3 separate regions of the Homo sapiens genome follow, and all the other regions are linked to region 3. The links are contacts of gene promoters, found by promoter capture Hi-C in blood cells and fetal thymus (Javierre and others, 2016). All regions are on one chromosome and are shown on one strand. The core of a region is centred on a gene start or on the middle of the fragment in contact, and the rest is flanking DNA. Distances in the headings are between cores, read along the strand shown.

Evidence for each region. Contacts are between HindIII fragments. The CHiCAGO score rates a contact against its expected background, and 5 or more counts as called.
Region 1: a fragment that was not itself captured here is called in contact with the fragment with the promoter of LIG3 in region 3 in 16 of 17 cell types (megakaryocytes, activated CD4 T cells, erythroblasts and 13 more); the score reaches 11.9 in megakaryocytes.
Region 2: a contact is called between the fragment with the promoter of UNC45B here and the fragment with the promoter of LIG3 in region 3, in 1 of 17 cell types (activated CD4 T cells). The highest score is 5.3, in activated CD4 T cells.

Annotation. Positions count from the first base shown.
Region 1 is chr17:35,127,962-35,131,377 of GRCh38, reverse strand. FNDC8 (fibronectin type III domain containing 8) reads right to left here. Exons shown (of 4, transcript NM_017559.4): 3 at 1,720-1,956; 4 at 646-1,096. The coding sequence ends at 944. NLE1 (notchless homolog 1) reads left to right here. Exons shown (of 13, transcript NM_018096.5): 13 at 1-2,648. Among named protein-coding and RNA genes, the nearest start is that of FNDC8, 8.1 kb to the right of the region's middle. The HindIII fragment of the contact is 1,966 bases long and covers 339-2,304 here.
Region 2 is chr17:35,146,196-35,149,624 of GRCh38, reverse strand. It overlaps UNC45B (unc-45 myosin chaperone B), which reads right to left and starts at 1,808. Exons shown (of 20, transcript NM_001267052.2): 1 at 1,715-1,808; 2 at 1,194-1,361; 3 at 616-652. The coding sequence starts at 1,361. The HindIII fragment of the contact is 5,031 bases long and covers 596-3,429 here.
Region 3 is chr17:34,978,092-34,981,819 of GRCh38, reverse strand. LIG3 (DNA ligase 3) reads right to left here and starts at 1,308. Exons shown (of 20, transcript NM_013975.4): 1 at 1,198-1,308. RefSeq lists a silencer at 854-1,283. The HindIII fragment of the contact is 8,847 bases long and covers 1-3,693 here.

The sequences.
Region 1 (3,416 bases), core at 72-2,571, 150 kb before region 3:
CCATCCTTGTATAAACTGCTCAGAACTAGCATCTTGCTCCTTCTTACCCTCCTCCACCCTTGTCTGTGCTTTTGGGTTTTGCGCGTCACCTAGCTGTGGTGCTTGGCCTCCACCTTGCACATATCTGCAGTGAGGCTACATAAGAAGCGAACAAAACTATCAGCCACTGAGCTCCTTGGTGCCAGCTGTTTGTCTGCTGTGCTCTCAGACTGCACCAGGCCTGGAAGGTTCTCAAGCTCCAAAACTTTTGATGAGGAAACAACATAAGAAATGATTAGCCCATGCCCTCACATCTAGTAAGAGAAAGCTGGGATTAAACCAGGCCCTGCCCCAAAGCTTATTGTGCACTTTGTACCACATCCCTCCGTCCAGAGCTCAAGCTAGTTTGACAGTTCATGGGCCACCACGTCTGTCCATGACAGCTATTTCTGTATTTTTCTGGTGTAAGAGCCTTTTAGTCTTAGAGCACCAGTCTCCCTGTTCCCCTACCCCGCCCCACTGGGGAAGGGGTGATGGCAGCATCCTATTGCCTAGCTGCCTGTTTTCTATCTCCCCACCCATGTAGACTCTGTCCTGGTGGAAGCTAGGAGGTGGGTGCCAGCCAGCCCATCTGAGGCTGTCTGCAGCATAAAGCAGACTTTAGGGTGCTGGATGACCTGCAGTTCTTTAATGAGGGACCTAGACCCAGCCCAGATTTGGAGGAGGAGGGAGTCTAGCAGCTGTGGGCAGTGGCTGAGCCTGGCATGGCCTGGCCTGAGATGCCTCCAGGTGAATGGGGCCCCTATGTAGCCTTGGCCCCAGCCCAGGGGTGGGGTGCCCATACCACTCTGCCAGACCCCGGGCCCGCAGGGTGCTGGTGGTATGGTAGGTCTCATGGCTCTGGTTTCTGAGGGCCTGGGGTTGAAGCTGAAAGTAGGTGAGGGGTGTCCTGGGGCCCTCCCCCTTAACAGGGAAATAGGTATTCCAGATCCTCCAGCCTCCGCATCTCCTCCGGCCCGATGGACACGATCTTTTGCCGGGGTTCCTTGCGCCGCACGGTGATCTGGATGGGGTAGTTCTCAGGAAAGCTGCTGAAGTCAGTGGCCAGGGTTGCAAACTGAAGTGAAACAAGAAAACCCTTCAGAGTTCCTTCCCAGATCTGAACCTGGCTCTCTCTCTGTCTCTATCACCCCTTTTTTTTCTGTCTGCTGACTCAGACCTTAAACAGCCTTATCCAACCTAGCCATTGACGCAGGAAACAGGTGCAAAGATGCATGACTCAAGCCTGTACCTCCTCATTATGGGATATTTCCAACCAAAGGGCTGTCTGTACTCAGGCCTCTATACCCCCATACCCCTACCCCATACCCAGGCTGTTCCCTTCTTCGTCCCCCTTTAGCCTCTTGTCTTCCCTATTTCTTTCAATGCCCTTGACTTCCCAGCCTACTCACAATCATGGGCACTGAATTGCAGAGTCTAAAAACCAATGGCTTTGGAAGGGGAACATTATAGTGATGTTGAAAAATACATTCGTTTGCATTCCTAGTGGGCCCCAGAGTGGCTTAATCCTTAAACCTCCCAGAAGCATGCATTCTGGAATTGATGCTTCTTGACCCAGGCAGAAGGAAAGCTAGCCAGATGAGTCATGTGGGCATAGGGGTGTTCCCAACCTCCAAAGCCCTGGTTCCCTGGCTTTGGACTTCTCTCCACCCCCAAGGCCCCTCTTTTCCCAGGGCTCACTTTGTAGGGCTTGCACCACTTCCCCACCCCAGCTGTGTTGGCTGCACGGACACTGAGGCAGTAACACGTGTTAGGCTTTAGCTCCATCAGCTTGACAGTAGTGCCCAAAATCTTGTTGAAGATCCATGGACGATTCTTTGCCTCGGGCAACTCATTCTCCTGTGTCTTGGCCACCTCCTGTAACAGGAGCTGGTAGAAACTGACCGGCTGCTTGCCCAAGGCGTAGGTCCAGGAAATCTAGGGGAAGAGAGAGCCCCGAGGCTTCCTCAGATATGTCCTGTCCTTCCTGTCCCTTCACCCTCCCAACTGGGGTCAGGACGTCCCATGCCCATCCCCTGCTCCTGCTGGGGCCCAGGCAGGTCAGATGGAAGGTGCAAGGTACTGCAGCACTGAGTGTGGAACCCCTGCCCCGAAGCATGTACTACTCTCCTGGGCAGCCCCACCCACTTTAGGGTACACCCTCATTCCATATTTCTTATACGCCAGGGGTCCTCAACCCTTGGGCCACCAACTGATAGCAGTCCATGGCCTGTTAGGAACTGGATAGCACAGCAGGAGGAGATTGGTGGGCGAGCAAGCGAAGCTTCATCTGTATTTACAGCTGCTCCCCACGGCTCAGGGTACCACCTGAGCTCTGCCTCCTGTCAGATCAGCAGAGGCATTAGATTCCCATAGGCACGTGAACCCTATTGTGAATTGTATGGGAGGGATCTAAGTTGAATGCTCCTTATGAGAATCTAATGCCTGATGATCTGTCATTGTCTCCCATCACCCCCAAATGGGACCCTCTCGTTGCAGGAAAACAAGCTCAGGGCTCCCACAGTTTCTACATTATGGTGAGTTGTATAATTATTTCATTATATATTACAATGTAATAATAATAGAAATAAAGTACACAATAAATGTAATATGCTTGACTCATCCTGAAACCATCCCCCCAACCGGATCCATGGAAAAATTATCTTCCATGAAACCAGTCCCTGGTGCCAAAAAGGTTGGTTCTAGACTCTGTCTAGACTCTGTTAGCTGAGAGGGACCTTAGAGATCATCTTATCGACTAGGTCCAGAGAGGGCAAGTGACTGGTCCATCATCATACGGCAATTAAGTGACAGCCAGTGTTCAAACCCATAGCTCCAGAGCCCATACACTTTGTACTACAATGGTTGCCAAGCCTGGCTAAGCATCTCAGGGAGATTTTGTAACTGCAGATTTCTGGGCCTGCTGCCTCCTGTCTGGTTTCTCCTCCATCTAGGCCAGTGTTTGTCAAACTTGGTGTGCATTAGAATACCCTGGAGGACTTATTAAAAGATAGATTACTGGGCTCCGCCCCAACAGTTTCTGACTCAGGAGGCCCAAATGTGGTGGAGGGAGATGAGAATTTAAATTTGTAACAATTTGCTGAGTGATGCTGACATTGTCCATCTGGAGAGCACTTTGAGAAACACTGCTCTGGGCCATCCAACAGTGGAATTCCAGGCATCCTCCCAAGATACAGCTCGAATTGCTTTCATCATCTGATGTGAAGCTTTTTACAAAGCTGTTCCCTATTACTTACAGAAAAGTCTATAAAGTAGTCTAACACTGGAGGACTCTGGAAGATGATCCCAGACTAACATTCCCCATCCTGTCCCCTGTCTTCACTTCCCATAGTGTAGGACGGTGTTGTTCGACGTGTAGCCCGCGGACGGGGAGCCAC
Region 2 (3,429 bases), core at 559-3,058, 170 kb before region 3:
GCCAACATGGCGAAACCTTGTCTCTACTAAAAATACAAAAATTAGCTGGGCGTGGTGGCAGACGCCTATAATCCCGGCTACTTGGAAGGCTGAGACAGGAGAATTGCTTGAATCCGGGAGGCAGAGGTTGCAGTGAGTTGAGATCATGCCATTGCACTCCAGTCTGGGCAACAGAGCAAGACTCCATCTCAAAAAAACAAAACAAAACAAAACCCAAAAAACAAAACAAAACAAACAACAACAACAACAAAAGACAGCCAGGCAGCTTAATCAGAAAACATTTCCCTCTCCCTGCCTGAAATGTGTTCCCTGTAACATTGCCCAGCCCTGGAACCCTTGAGATGAAATCCAATCCTTCTTCCTTGTGACAGCCTTTTAGGAATTTGAAGGCAGCTCTCTGACCCACCTGGGAGTTGCCTTTTCTGGGCTAAATATTGCAGCTTCCCTCAACTGCTCTTCACAGGATATGTTTCCAGTCCCTTCTCCAGCTTGTTCTCTCCCTTCTGAAGTCACTCCATACTCACTGTTTCTTCCCCCAAAATGGTAACTAGATTAAAACCCAGGCCATGCAGAGGAGAATGTGACAGGGCAAGCTTGGAGGTGGGAGGGGCTCACCTCTGGAGGCATCTGAAGCTGCCTGGACGTAGCTCTCCTGAGGAAAGGGGAAGGAGAAGGAGACTCGGTTAATGTGGGCCCAATGCAGAGATGGCCAGAGAGTGTCCCCACAGTGTGGGGAGAGGGTTTCCTGGGGGAGCTGCAGGCTGTCAGAGGCCCAGGGCATGCTCCTCACAGGCATGGCAAAGAGGACAGGCTTTGACATCAGGCAAACCCAGGTTTGAATCTCGGCTCTGCTACTACTTGGGAGAGCTTGGGCAAGTTAATGAATGAAGCCCTCTGGATCCCGAGTTTCTTACCTGCGATAGGGGGAGGACAACAACAGCTATCTCACGGGCCATTAGTAAGATGCCATGAATAACACATGAAAGCACCTGGCATTGGGCTGATTCTGCTCTGGATGAATTTCTGTCTTTCCGGGGCATGGGTCAGGGGGTTGGAGGCACCCTTCTCCAACCCCAGGCATCCAGGAGAGTCGGCTGGGATGAAGGGCAATTTCTATCAGGGTGAAGGGGCTGCCACTCAGCCCCAAAGCCCCTCTGCCTCACTCCCACCCTGTGCCCTGCCCTGCCCCAGACCGTTTTCAGGCCACAGGCTGCCCGGTTCCGATAAAGCGTGGCCAGCAGGGCCTTGTCCTTGGTCAGCTTCAGGGCCTGGCTGTAGCTATTTGTGGCGGCCTTGTAGTCCTGGAGCTGGAAATGCCGGTTTCCTTCCTCCTTCAGCTGTACCGCTTCCACCTCTGCCATCTGCTGGGACAGGAGAAGCTCTGTCTGGTCAGCCCCTCACTGCAGACCCAGGGCTGGGCTCCTGGCCTGAGGTCCGGAGCTCCAGGGTCCCCTCACACCAGAGAGGATGGTGGGGATTCTGCCTGGAAGGGACCCACCCCCAGAACCCCCAAATCTATTGCCCCATGAGGACATTATAGCATTTGCTCAGAGCTTGGCCCAAGTTGAGAGTCCCTGTGCCTCACTCTCTGTCCCTCCCAGCCTGAGCAGGCGAAGCTGCTTAGTTTGTGCCAAAGGCCTGAACTCTCATTGCAGGTCTTAGAAGTTTGCCGTCTCCCTCCCCAGTCCAGGGCACACCCCAGGCCCATGCTCACTTTTTCAGCAAGGACGATGCTTTCGATCTGCCCTCTTGTGATGCTGCTCCCCTGAGCACTCCTGTGTCAACCTCCAGCCAGCCAGCCTCAGTCTGCCCCTCCCAGCCCCCACCCAAGAGATTTTCTTGCCTCAGCCAGTGGCTCTGGACCATATTTGGCCACAGGGGCAGGTGCCCCTGGAGTCTGTCACTGATACTCAGGGCCCTCCCCCTCCCCAGACTGGTCAGTCATGACCACGTGGAGGTGCTGACCAGCCTCCGCCCAAGCACCCCACTCTGGGTTATCCTGGTGGGGGGCTTAGGCACTAACATTCCAAAGAGTGACAGAAAGATCCAGAAGGGACAGGAACCCCCCAGCAGACTCCCTCCCTGGGCACAGCTCTAATGCACCTCTCCACATCTATCCCAGATAAACAGCTTCCTCTCCCTCCCCTCAACCATTGCTATTTTTGGGAGCAGAGTGACAGCTGAGGGGCTGACAGACTGGGACACACAGCAGTTGCCCAGATCCCAGACCAACTGGAGAGTTCCAGAAATACCTTTCTGGAGGGAGCGGGGAAGGAACAGGGGAAGAAAGTTCCTTCCCTTTTCCACTTCTGCGCAACACCTCAACCCACCCTGCTTTCACCTGTTCAAAATGTCTTTGCTTTTCAGAAAGACCAACAGGACTTGCTAACTCAGTTTAGTGTGAGTGAGTGGTTCGTTAGTTTCGGTCCACATGCGGTCTCCTGTTCCTCCCCCTGTGTATAGAGTGGATCTATTCAGCCTACCTCTCCCATCTGACTGTTAGCTCCCAGAGAGTGGGCTTTGTGTATCCCCCATCAGGCTGAGATCTCTTAGGGCAAGGGCTGGGTCAGACTGGGAATTCCCCCGAGACCAAGGGTCCTCCCCACCCGACTGGAAACTATCCTGGGACACACTGAGGCTCCCTCCTCAGAAGGGGGTCTTCCTGGGACAAGAACTATGTATTCACCATTGCAGAGGGGTCTCTCCTGAGGCAGGAATGTTTCTCCTTAGCTAACTGGGAGTTCCTGAAGCAAATTTATGACGTTGTCCCCAGTTGGACCCAGAACTCTTCTGCATTTCAGTGCCCTCAAGCCTGGGCTGTGAGCTTCCTCCTGGAAGGCAAAGACAGCATCCCATATAGCTTGTCCCCCAACCCCCTTCCTGCACAGGTTCTGGCACATTCAGTGTCCGAAGTGTGTTTCCTGAATGGAATGAATGGATGGATGAATGAATGAATGAATGAATGGTGTCTTCATGATGATGATTTCCTCCACTCACCTCTCATCCCTCTCCCCTCCACCCCACACATATCTTCAAACTTATCTGGCCAGAGCTGAGAAAGACACTGAAGAAAATCCCAGGTGGAATCATTCATACTAGATTCTACTCGCAGACCTGTGACCTTGGACACACAGCTATATGACCTTGGACAAGTTGTAGCGCCCTGCTGGACACAAAGCCCAGCCCTAACACATGTTTGTTGAATGAGCAAATAAATGAATGAATAGATGGATGAATTCCCTGCCTTCATGTTATCACAAGCCCTGGGCCCTTTTGTGGGGCAAGCTCTCTGCAGCAATGAGGTAATAGGATAAAGGATCCTGACATTGGCAGAGACCTGCGGTTCTGTGACTTTAGGTCCAAGGGATCTTATATTCAAATGCTGATTCAGTAATTCATTCCACAAGCATTTCTTAAACATCTTTTTGT
Region 3 (3,728 bases), core at 59-2,558:
GCATTTTATAGTCCTAGTTTTAAGTATACTGGAATTATGTTCAGTCTGCACACGCTGTGAAGCAAAATTGCTGTCACGTTATAATAAAAAGCAGGCTTTGCTTACTGTAGTGCAACATGATGTGAAGGAAAGCTGGTGGACCTGGAATAAGGGATGGGAGTGCAAGTCTGACTGTACAGTTTACTGACTGTTACCTCGGAGAAAACTCTTAATTTATCTGCATCTGTTTTCTTATTTCTAAAGCAGGGTAAATAATACCTACCTCACAGGGTAGTTGGGAAAATTACAAGGAATCCATGAATGCGCTGGTTGTGGGGGAGGGAGGCTGTTCTGAGCTCTCTAAAAATGTATACAAAATGTACATTCGATAAAAATGCACGGTTTTTTGGAGGAGGTCTATCACTTTCGTGATATTCACAAAGGGCTATATAACTCCCAAAGTTTAAGAACCACAGAGGTGAGGTAAGTGGAAGTACGGCAGACCCATAAAAGGAGGTCAGAACAAGTGAGTTTCAACACTTTTCCTAGAAGATCAATTTACAGAGCAACCTCTAGGGCCCCAATAATGAAAGGAGTGGACTTGAGGGAGGCTCGGGAGGCGCTGGGCCACGAGGAGGCACAATGCAGCTTTGAGGAAACCCGTCTGTCCCTCGTTCCGCACCCTCACAACTGCCGCAGCCCAGGGGCCCGAGAAGGAAATCGCTGAGGCCTGGCCGCCGCCGCTTTTCTCGAAGGGCTTCCCGCGCCGCTGTCGGAGAGTGGCGGGGACAGTGGGGTCGGCGGCGTAGGCCGCGACCCCCGGCGAGGCAGAAAGGAGCGCTCCTCCACCGGGTCCGGGACGCAGGCGGGAAGTGATCAAGGCTCCCTGAGTCCCACCCGAGCGCTCCCGGTTCAGCGCAGGAGGACGCACGCCGGGCCAGGGTACGAGAAGGCCCCGTGGGTTCCACAGGGAACACAGCCCGGGCGCCGGCCTCCCCGCCTCACGCGGCCCCGTGGGGGTCCCGGGGAGCCGCGAGCCTCCCCCTGGGCTCCCGGGAGGGCCGCCACGTCACGGAGGGTGTGCCCCGGGGCTCCGCAGGCGGGCGGGGGAGGAGCCGGGGGGCTGGCTCCCCGGCCGCGCCGAGCTCCTCGCCCCGGGCCCGCTGCCTTCCCCACGCCGGGCCCCGCCGCGCCGTGCCGCGCCGCGTAGCCCCTCACCTGCCTCTCCGGCTCCGGCGCTCACCGTAGGCCTCGGAACTTGCTCATTACAGGCCGCGGGCAGCCCACGACGGTTGGAGCGCCTGTCTCTTTAAATCCGGGTCCTAGAGCGGGAGGCAGCGCGCAGGCGCAAGAGCCAAGGCCGCGGCCACGCGACCGGTCCCCGCCCCCGTCTGCCACGTGGGTCGTAGTTGCATTCTGCCTGCCCTGTGATGTTTGGGAGTAGTTTTCAACCTGCAATCGCGGCCCGGGAAGCGGAGGTGGGGGGACGTGGCGGCTCCTCGGAACGCAGCCTGGCCTGAACTTCCGAGGCTCCCCTTGATTTTCTCATACTGTTAGAGAGGATCTGTTTTTAAAGATATTGGTGGAGAAACTATATTGTAATGAGGTCGGGGAAGGCAAAGATCGCGTCAATCTATTTTTTAAATATAATCCCTCTGTTTGTGTCCCGCAGACTCCCTAGTAAATAGTTTGTATTCAGTAGCTTTCATGGAATTGAGACGAGGCACTAAACAGCAGATAGATATAAAATGTAAAGGAGTGATGGAGGAGAAACTCCTTGATTGTATATCATTCAAAGTGTATTATCTCAAATCTGAAGCCAGCTCTTTGAGAGTTGGGATGGCGATTTTTACAAATGTAGCAGCCTGAGGGTAAGTGACCTCTTCAGAGTCTAGGAAGAGCAAACAACTGGGCCTTGTTAGGTAAGCAAAGAACAGGTTCCCGAGAGAATTCTGTGCTGTGTGATGAAGAGTGTCGTCTTTACTCTGTAGAGGACGGAGAGCCATGAAGAGTCTTAGGGAATACTGCTGAAGCTGGGTGGGGAGAGACTGAGGCAAGGGAACAAATCAGAAGGCTCTCATAGTGACCCATGTGGGAGATGATTCAGCTAGTTAGGGTGGAGAGTAAAGTGCGTTTTTGAAGATCATTTAGAATTTAAATGATCTTCTAGATAAAGTGCTCGTTTATGGATAAAATAATAATAATTTGAGTGAGCAGAAACATAATGGTACCATCAACTGAAATAGAAAATAGAGAGGAAGAGGAGGTGTTAGGGTTAGAAAGATGAGTTTTGTATTGGATACATTAAGTTTGTTTGACTAAGTTTAACTGCGATTCTACTGTTTGGAGGGGAGTAAAGCCTGCTTTTAATGCGCAGCAGAATGAACCAGGGCTTTGGTTCAACCAGGCAATTGGAAGGTCGCTGGAGACTCACGTCCTAGCTATGATAATTGAGTGATCTTGAGCACGTCTCTACAACTACATTTGCTACATTTTTTTAAGTTTCCTCAACCGTATCTGTCTTTTTCCAATGCTGTAATCACTAGCCACACGTGACTATTGAGCACTTGAATGTTGCATGGAATTGAGATGTGCTATAAGTGAAGAAAATACACACCAAAAAATTCATACTAAAAAAAGTAAAATATCTCATTAATAATATGTACCACATAATGACATTTAGGCCAACAATGGACCAAATATATGAGGGTGGTCCCATAAGATTATAATGGAGCTGAAAAATCCCTATCATATAGTGACAGCACATTACTCATGTGTTTGTGGAGATGCTGGTGGAAACGAACCTACTCCATTGCCAGTTGTATAAAAGCATAGCACACACTATTATGTACAGTATATAAAACTTTATAATGATAATAAAGGACGATGTTGCTGGTTTATATATTTAGTATACTATACCTTTTATTGTCATTAAATTAAATTAATTAATTTAGTTATTTTTGAGACAGAGTCTCGCTGTGTCGCCCAGGCTGGAGTGCAGTGCCACGATCTTGGCTCACTGCAACCTCTGCCTCCCAGGTTCAAGTGATTCTCCTGCCTCAGCCTCCCAAGTAGCTGGGATTACAGGCCCTTGCCACCACAATGGGCTAATAATTTTTTTTTTTTTTTTTTGCGACAGAGTTTTGTTCTTGTCGCCCAGGCTGGAGTGCAGTGGCAGGATTTTGGCTCACTGCAACCTCTGCCTCCTAGGTTCAAGCAATTCTCCTCCCTCAGCCTCCTGAGTAGCTGGAATTACAGGCACCCGCCACCACGCCTGGCTAATTTTTGTATTTTTAGTAGAGACGGGGTTTCACGATGTTGGCCAGGCTGGTCTCAAACTCTTGACCTCAAGTGATCCGCCTGCCTCGGCCTCCCAAAGTGCTGAGATGACAGGCATGAAACACTATGCCCAGCCTTATTGTTATTTTAGAGTATACTACTACTTATTGAAAAAAAAAAAGCTAACTGTAAAACAGCATCAGGTAGGTCCTTTAGGAGGTATTCCAGAAGAAGGCATTGTTATCAGAGGAGATGACAGCTCCACGTGTGACATTGCCCCTGAAGGCCTTCCAGTAGGACAAGATGTAGAGGTGGAGGATGGTGATATTGATGATCCTGACCCTCTGTAGGCTTACTAGGCTAATGTGTGTGTTTCTGTCTTGTTAACAAAAAAGTTTTAAAAGTAAAAGGAATTTTTTTTAATAGGAAAAAGCTTATAGAATAAGGATATAAAGCAAAAATATTGGCTG